Linked DNA regions of Homo sapiens: region 2 is linked to region 1. The links are contacts of gene promoters, found by promoter capture Hi-C in blood cells and fetal thymus (Javierre and others, 2016). All regions are on one chromosome and are shown on one strand. Each heading gives the region's core, a stretch centred on a gene start or on the middle of the fragment in contact. The rest is flanking DNA. Distances are from core to core; before and after follow the strand shown.

Region 1 (4,342 bases), core at 54-2,553:
ACGGTGTGTGTTAGAGGAGAAGTGAGTTTGGTTAATGGGTACAAACATACAGTTACACAGAAAGAATAAGTTCTAATATTTGATAGCAGCATAGGGTGACTACAGTTAACAATGTATTGTATGTCTCAAATCAGCTAGAAGAGAGAGTGTAAAATGTCCTCAACACAGAGAAATGATAGACAAGGTGATGAATATCCTGATTTCATCATTACGTATCCTCTGTGTGTAAAGTATTTCATATGCCCCATAAATATGTAAACATATTATGTATCAATTTTTAAAAAGTGCCATATGTAGATCAGTGATGGGAGTGTGTGCTGCAGAACTAATCCAGTTCTGTAAACCTGAGATCCTCCGCGACCCGGGAAGCAGGACATCCACCAACCACATGGGAAAGCCCGATCCTCAGTGCTCTGAGGCTTTGGCCATCAATGCAGGGCTTGCTGGCCTGGAGCAGGAGTGGACAGCCAGTGGGGAAGCGAGGCCACTCCACCACAGGCGGGTAAGTCACCGCTGTGGCCACTGCAGCTGGGCCCCAGGAGCCCTGGGAGAGACCACATGGGCATCTGCAGCCGCGCCCTCCACCCGGGACACCACCTTCTGATGAGCACTGGGTGAAGGGATCACTGAAGAGGGTTTAGCAGCAAATTCTATGTAATCAGCAGAATAGATAGCGGGGAGTATAGAAATAAAAAAGAGAGACAAGAAACGCAGAGTTGCATGGGGAAAGCTGGTTTATTTGACTCTCATGGGGTCAGAGAATGACTCTGGGACCCCAGACTTCCCTGGGGGGATAGGCAAGTTCAGCCAGGGCTCCAGATCATTCTATTATATTCTCGATCCAGAATTCAGAGGGTTCACTGAGCATGCTTTTCACCTGCACCATGTGCAGAAGACCAACTGAGGACTCATCCAGGGAGTGTACAGGTGTGGCCTCATCTGCACTGGGAGCAGCGGGTCTGGAGATTCATGCTCAGCAGCAGGAAGGGGTGCTGCAGGAGATGGGTCTGCAGAGGACGCTGGTGCAGGAAGGCTGGCAGCACCCAGAGGACTGGCAGGAGGGAGCCGCATACACGACGGGCCTGCAGCTCACGGGCACGCACACAGAGGACTGGCATCTCACGGGCACACACACGGCTGGCTTGAAGCTCACGGGCACGCACACGGAGGACTGGCAGCCCACGGGGATGTAACAGGATGCCTGGCAGGGGCTGGGCGCGCAGCAGGCTGGCTGGCAGCCCGAGGAGCAGCTGGTGTGGCACATGGTGGCGTGTGGCTGGATAAGGTCGAGGCAGAGGGCAGTGATGTCTGGGGATGGCCTCCCTGGGTAGCCTTTATACCTGGACCCAGGCATCCCCACAGCACAGAAGCACACACCTGTTGTCTTCCTTGTTTTTCTTCCTCAAGGCTGTTTCCTGGAACTCAGTTTTCTGTCGTAGATGATGTTTTTTATCTGGCCCTTTGTTTCGTGACTAATTGCACCCTCTTCAAGCTCTTGTTACATTTGGAAACCTGCCCAAATTTATCAGTGATGCACAGGCAGTTTTAGCTCCACCTGCCTGATATCTGCCTCCCTTCGTTAGTTCTACGCTGAAGCAGACATGAGTGGTACCCAAAAGAGCTCCTCGAACCGCAACTTCTGTTGCATCAACCAGAAACTTTGGGGAAGAGACCAGAACTGAATATAGACAATGAAATCATACTGGGGAACCTGCTGGAGTGAGTGATGCAAAGCTGGCTACTCTATCAACTATACAGTTGAGATTTAGGAGATGCTCGTTTTCAGGCAGCCGTCAACCAGCAGTGCAGACTGTGCTTCCTGAGAGAGAAGAAACTTAGGAGATAAACTCCCATTTCCCAGCTCTCTGCTGGGGCAGGCTTCCAAAATGCAGTGTCACCTTCCAAAATGCAGTGTCACCAGCCGGAGTCAGAGCAGAATACAGTGACCCAACTCTGCCGAGGAGGAAGGGGCCAGCGCTCAAGCAGCTGAAGCCCTGGAGTCCGAGGAGCAGAGAAGCGGAAAGAAGGATCCGTGTGGAGAGCAGGCCCCACACTGTGGAAGCTGACTGTGAATCTGTGGAACGGGGCAGGGCTGTGCATTCCCAGGGCAAGGCAACCACAGGCTCACCAGAGAGAAGCTGCTAGAGGATTGAGAGTGAAGCCCCCCTCCAGTCCCCACGTCGACATCCAGCCGAGACCCCCTACAGCCCGGCACCAAATGAGTAAGGACCACAGACTACAGTGAGACCCGCCTAGGCCAGCCCGAACAAAGCCTAAACCAATTCAGAATAGGATTTTTAGGGAAGACAGTTTGGAATGTGAGTCCCACCAAGATACAGAGTGTTCCAAGTTGTAGATGCTTCCCAGAGATCCACCCTAGCAAAGTGTTGAACAAAAACTGCACAAGATTAAGGTCATTCTCCAGTAACTGACGGCTAGAACAAAAATCAGAAACATGATACAGCTCAGAGTCTGTAAATGCATTATTATGATACCTCATACACAATCAAAATCATCAGATATTGACCAGGCACGGTTGTTTATGCCTGTAATCCCAGCACTTTGGGAGACCAAGATGGGAAGATTGCTTGAGGCTAGGAGTTTCAGACCAGCCTGGGCAACATAGTGAGACTCTGTCTCTACAAAAAAATGGTTAAAAATTAGCCAGACATGGTGGTGCATGCTTGTGGTCCCAGCTACACGGTAGGTTGAGGCAGGAGGGTCTATTGAGCCTGGGAGGTTGAGGATGCCATGAGTTATGATCACACCACTGCATTCCAGCCAGGGCAACAGAGCAAGACCCCGTCTCAAAAAACAAATCATCAGATATTAAAAGATATAGGTAAATTTAATTCACTGTTAAAAAAAATAAACCTGATATGGTCTAGATATTGGACATGGCAAATGATGACTGTAAGCAGCTATTATAGACATCTTCCAAAAAATCCAAGAAAACTGTTCAAATAATTAAAGGAAAACATTGTCTTCATGAATGGATAAATAGGGAATCTCAGTAGAGTAATTGAAGCTATTTTTTAAAATGGGAATCCTAGAACTGAAAAGTACAGTAGTTAGAAATTTTAAATACACCAAATTTGACTTCAAAAATCAACAACGTCCAAATCCAGGAATCTCAGAAAGCCCCCAGTAGGATAAATAGGAAGAAAACCACATCCAGGCACATCATGAAGTGATGAAAACCAAAAATGAAGACAAAATCTCAAAAGCAGTGACAGGAAGACACTTTACATACAAAGGAACAAGGATAAGAAAAACGCCCTGGCTTCTCATGAGAAACAGTGGAGACACATCTTTAAAATGCTGAGCAACAATAACTGGCAATCCGGAAGTCTACATCTATGAAGAACGTGCTTAAAGACTGAGACTGAGGCCGGGCCGGGCACTGTGGTTCACACCTCTAATCCCAGCACTTTGAAGGCTGAGGCAAGAGGATCACTTGAGCCCAAGAGTTGTAGACCAGCCTAGGCAACAAGCAAGAGCACATCTCTACAGAAAATTTAAAAATTAGCTAGGGGTGGCGGTGTGCACCTGTAGTCCCAACTATTCAGGAGGATGAGGCAGGAGGATAGCTTGAGCCCAGGAGTTCGAAGCTGCAGTGAGCTATGACTGCACCATCACACTTCAGCCTGGGTGACCAAGCAAGAAGGGTCTCAAAAAACCCCAGAAACTGAGATTGAAGTGAAAATCTGTTCAGAGGAACAAAAGCTGGGAGAAATCCTCCCCTGCAGATGTGCGCTGCAGGCAACGTGGACAGATGTGCTTTAGGTTGACTAGGACGAGGCCAGGTGGGCCCTGACCTGCAGGAAGGAGTAAGGGCCAGGCAACGTGCACGGATGTGCTTTAGGTTGACTAGGACGAGGCCAGGTGGGCCCTGACCTACAGGAAGGAGATGGGGGAAGGTAAAGGAGCAGGTAAATATCAAAGATGCATCCTCATTCTTCTGTAGTCAACTTGTAAGACAGCTAACCTTTAAAATGGATTACTTGGTGACTAGGTCACATAGGAACATGTGATCACTGTGGCTGCCCCAATTCTCTTGGTTTTTAAGTGTGATTCTGAACTATAGCAGTGAAAGGAGTTGCCTGTGACAGGGCTGAACTTGTGGCCTCGCCCGGCTTGTCCCTAGGCCTTAAGGTCACTCTCACATGGCCACAGATCGGCTCTGGGTCCATAGACTTCTAAGTTCTGTCCACAGCTCTGAGACCCCACTTGGTCTTCAGCCTTGGAGGGGATTTCATTAACATGGTGTCTGACTTGTCTGAAGGCTTCTTGGCAGGAATCACCCATATCCACCACCAGCAGGCACAGGAGGACCCACACA
Region 2 (4,083 bases), core at 521-3,020, 110 kb before region 1:
CACCAGCACTGCCGGGCAAACGCCTGGGCAGACGCAGGACAGCTGCCAAGTCTCAGACATGACCAATTACAGAGGGAAACGGCGGCACCGCGAGGGATGGGCCGCGGCCGTGTCACCTCCATGCCCCACGCACACTGCTCCTGTGGGATTCCTCCCCCAACGCGATGCCCACTCTGACCACGAGGAAACCTCAAGCAAGTCCACGTGGAGGGGCATTCTACAAAACACCCAACCGGTCAAGGTCGCTGAGGCCAAGGAGAGATTGGGCAACCGTCACAAACCAGAGAAGTCGAGGAGACCTTTCAGCCAACGCCATGTGGGGTCCTGAGCAGGACCCACCGGAAGTTGGTGCAGCTGCCTAAAGACCGTCCTGGCTGAGAAGAAACAGAGCAGCGCTGCTTTCTCAGAGCTGGGAACCAACCTGCGGTGGTGTCGGGAAGCTGGCAAAGGGCGATGTGAACCCCGCTTTTCAGCCACTATTCCCTAAAACCATTCCACGAGGTCAAGCCACACCTCACAAGCAAAGGCTGCTGAGTGCCCAGTGCTGGGCACCTGCTGTCCTGTGCTACCCTCGCCACCCCCCATGCTCCACCTGCCCCAGGCCCAAGTCCACAAGAAACACTTCTGCCGTGCTTGCCTTCCCATCCCGGGTTCTGCTCCCGTGCCCACGTCCTCATCCCAGGTTCTGCCATTGTGTCTGCTTGCTGTGGATTGAATTGTGTCCCTCAAAAGGTGCCGAAGTCCTGACCGCTGGTACATGTGAATGTGACCCTATATGGAAATAGGGTCTTTGTAGGTGATCAAGTTAAGAGGAGGCTGTTAGGATAGGCCCTACTGCAATAATGCTTTGTATCCTTATAAAAAGGGGAGATTTGGACACACACACACACACACACACACACACACACACACACACACACACACACACGGAGAAGCTGTGTGAAGATAAAGGCAGAGCTCAGGTGAGGCCACTGTAAGCCAAGGACCCCAAAGATAGCAGCAGCCCACAGGAGTGAGGGGAGCGGGGTGAGACAGTGCCCCTCGCAGCCTCAGAAGGAACCCATGCTGTCCACTGTCCACACCTCGATCTCAGACTTCTGGCTTCCAAAACCATGAGACACGGAATTTCTGTTGTGTGACCAGCCAGTTTGTGGTACTGTTTGTCATGGCAGCCCAAGGAAAAGAATACATTACAGCATACAAACCATGACTCACATTATCTTTACTTAGAACCCAAACAAACCTCTCTCCCTAAGCTTTCAATCACAGAGGCACATGATCTTGTTCAGCAGCCTAGAAAACCAAGGCCCAGCGGAGCCACCCGTAGGCACCCACTCCCCATAGCCTGGCACACACACACGGCAGAGCCACCCACAGGCACCCACTCCTCATAGTCCAGCACACACACGGCAGAGCCACCCGCAGGCACCCACTCCCCATAGCCCGGCACACACGTGGACCATGCCACCCTCCACGTGCGCCTGGGGAGCAAAGCAGCACAGCCTGAACTGCCCCTCAGCTCTTCCTCCTGAGTCTAAAACACGCACATGCGCCCCAGGCCAATTCCAAGTTTTGTAAACTGAGCAACAGCTCTTGGGAAACAAAAACACAGCTACTGTTTATTCTCCTGGAGCTGGCTGTACACCCCAACAAGGAAGGGAGGGCTTGCTGAGCCTCCTGTCTGGACAACATGCACCAAGGAGGAGTATAAAAGCCCCACAAACCCGAGCACCTCACTCACTCGCTCACCCACTCCCTCCCATCTCCCCCAGCTCAACCCCCAGCACAGCAGCATCCACCATGTCCGTCTGCTCCAGCGACCTGAGCTACAGCAGCCGCGTCTGCCTTCCTGGTTCCTGTGACTCTTGCTCCGACTCCTGGCAGGTGGACGACTGCCCAGAGAGCTGCTGCGAGCCCCCCTGCTGCGCCCCCAGCTGCTGCGCCCCGGCCCCCTGCCTGAGCCTGGTCTGCACCCCAGTGAGCCGTGTGTCCAGCCCCTGCTGCCCAGTGACCTGTGAGCCCAGCCCCTGCCAATCAGGCTGCACCAGCTCCTGCACGCCCTCGTGCTGCCAGCAGTCTAGCTGCCAGCTGGCTTGCTGTGCCTCCTCCCCCTGCCAGCAGGCCTGCTGCGTGCCCGTCTGCTGCAAGACTGTCTGCTGCAAGCCTGTGTGCTGTGTGCCCGTCTGCTGTGGGGATTCTTCATGCTGCCAGCAGTCTAGCTGCCAGTCAGCTTGCTGCACCTCCTCCCCCTGCCAGCAGGCCTGCTGTGTGCCCATCTGCTGCAAGCCTGTCTGCTCTGGGATTTCCTCTTCGTGCTGCCAGCAGTCTAGCTGTGTGAGCTGTGTGTCCAGCCCCTGCTGCCAGGCGGTCTGTGAGCCCAGCCCCTGCCAATCAGGCTGCATCAGCTCCTGCACGCCCTCGTGCTGCCAGCAGTCTAGCTGCCAGCCGGCTTGCTGCACCTCCTCCTCCTGCCAGCAGGCCTGCTGCGTGCCCGTCTGCTGCAAGACTGTCTGCTGCAAGCCTGTGTGCTCTGAGGATTCCTCTTCATGCTGCCAGCAGTCTAGCTGCCAGCCGGCTTGCTGCACCTCCTCTCCCTGCCAGCAGGCTTGCTGTGTGCCTGTCTGCTGCAAGCCTGTGTGCTGCAAGCCTGTCTGCTCTGTGCCCATCTGCTCTGGGGCTTCCTCTCTGTGCTGCCAGCAGTCTAGCTGCCAGCCAGCTTGCTGCACCTCCTCCCAAAGCCAGCAGGGCTGCTGCGTGCCCGTCTGCTGCAAGCCTGTGAGCTGTGTGCCTGTTTGCTCTGGGGCTTCCTCTTCATGCTGCCAGCAATCTAGCTGCCAGCCAGCTTGCTGCACCACCTCCTGCTGCAGACCCTCCTCCTCCGTGTCCCTCCTCTGCCGCCCCGTGTGCAGGCCCGCCTGCTGCGTGCCCGTCCCTTCCTGCTGTGCTCCCACCTCCTCCTGCCAACCCAGCTGCTGCCGCCCAGCCTCCTGCGTGTCCCTCCTCTGACGCCCCGTGTGCTCCCGCCCAGCCTGCTGAGGCCTCCGCTCAGGTCAGAAGCCCAGCTGCTGATGGACACGCCCCCCAGTGCCAGCCAGGCTCAGGTCCCACCTGAAAGCTGATAGTCGCGTCCTGAATTGCTCCTGCACTTTGACCATTTCCTGGTGTCTGCTGTTGAGCTGGACAATGGAAGAACTGAAAGTCTATACTCAATGCTGCAGCCCTCTTGCGGGGGGAGGGGGGCGCTTCTAGAAAGTTCCCATGGCAGTGGCCTCCCCTCCATATCTCCCACCTCTCATGAGGGTCAGTTCAGCCTTGACCCGTGAGGTCTCTGTCCTCCTGGCTCAGAGCCGCAGAGCCTTCTTTGGACGCCCTCAAGCTGACCAATAAAGGCCCTGAGACTGCAATGGCGCTGACACCCAGGTGTGTTGATTAATGCCTTGGCTGGAGCTCACGGCCATGGTTTTCTCCTTTGTGCACAACCCTCTGCTGTCCTTCAGGCCCCTGAGTGTTTTCCTGTGCCCAGGGGCGTGTGGTTCCCAGGGGTCCAGGCTAGACGGACATGGACGCGGGGAGCCTTGCAGCCCTTTGGCCATTTCGGGCCCTTGGGTTTGTCCCTAACCCTCCTGTGTTGTTAGTCGTGTCATAGTTCTTTTTGCTGATTTGCTTTTTAAATTATCCTTCTGCTGCACAATACTTGTCAAATAAGAATGGTGTCTTCTAGCGCCATGCTTGCCCAGAGTGTGTCCAAATGCCTCCCTAGCTTCAAAATCAGTAGTCTTCATCGACATTGCCTAAAACCTCTTGTGCCCTGTGCAGACATCACTGGCATGGTGGGAGGAACACAGACAGGCGATTGGAATTGGGTCTCTGTCGCTTCGCTTCCACCCTGTGTGAGCAGAATCATCTCCTCGACCCTCCGGCCTCTCTAAGGTCAGGGAAGTAGGACTCCCTCTTTCAGGTTTCCAAATGGAGTGGCAAGAACGACAGACAGAGCACGTGTGACCACCATGAGCCCAGGGCCAGCGGACTGCCCAGAGCAGGATGGTCTGAGGAGTTTTGGGCATTTTAAGAAGTCTTTAAAAA

What was found. Contacts are between HindIII fragments. The CHiCAGO score rates a contact against its expected background, and 5 or more counts as called.
Region 2: a contact is called between the fragment with the promoter of KRTAP10-4 here and the fragment with the promoter of KRTAP12-1 in region 1, in 1 of 17 cell types (naive CD8 T cells). The highest score is 5.2, in naive CD8 T cells.

Annotation. Positions count from the first base shown.
Region 1 is chr21:44,680,860-44,685,201 of GRCh38, forward strand. KRTAP12-1 (keratin associated protein 12-1) reads right to left here and starts at 1,304. Exons shown (of 1, transcript NM_181686.2): 1 at 717-1,304. The coding sequence starts at 1,264. The coding sequence ends at 974. All of the region lies in intron 1 of TSPEAR (thrombospondin type laminin G domain and EAR repeats), which reads right to left. The HindIII fragment of the contact is 12,382 bases long and covers 1-4,342 here.
Region 2 is chr21:44,571,959-44,576,041 of GRCh38, forward strand. It overlaps KRTAP10-4 (keratin associated protein 10-4), which reads left to right and starts at 1,771. Exons shown (of 1, transcript NM_198687.2): 1 at 1,771-3,413. The coding sequence starts at 1,801. The coding sequence ends at 3,006. The region is part of intron 1 of TSPEAR (thrombospondin type laminin G domain and EAR repeats); the gene reads right to left. RefSeq lists enhancers at 1,986-2,503, 2,504-3,022. The HindIII fragment of the contact is 4,220 bases long and covers 1,255-4,083 here.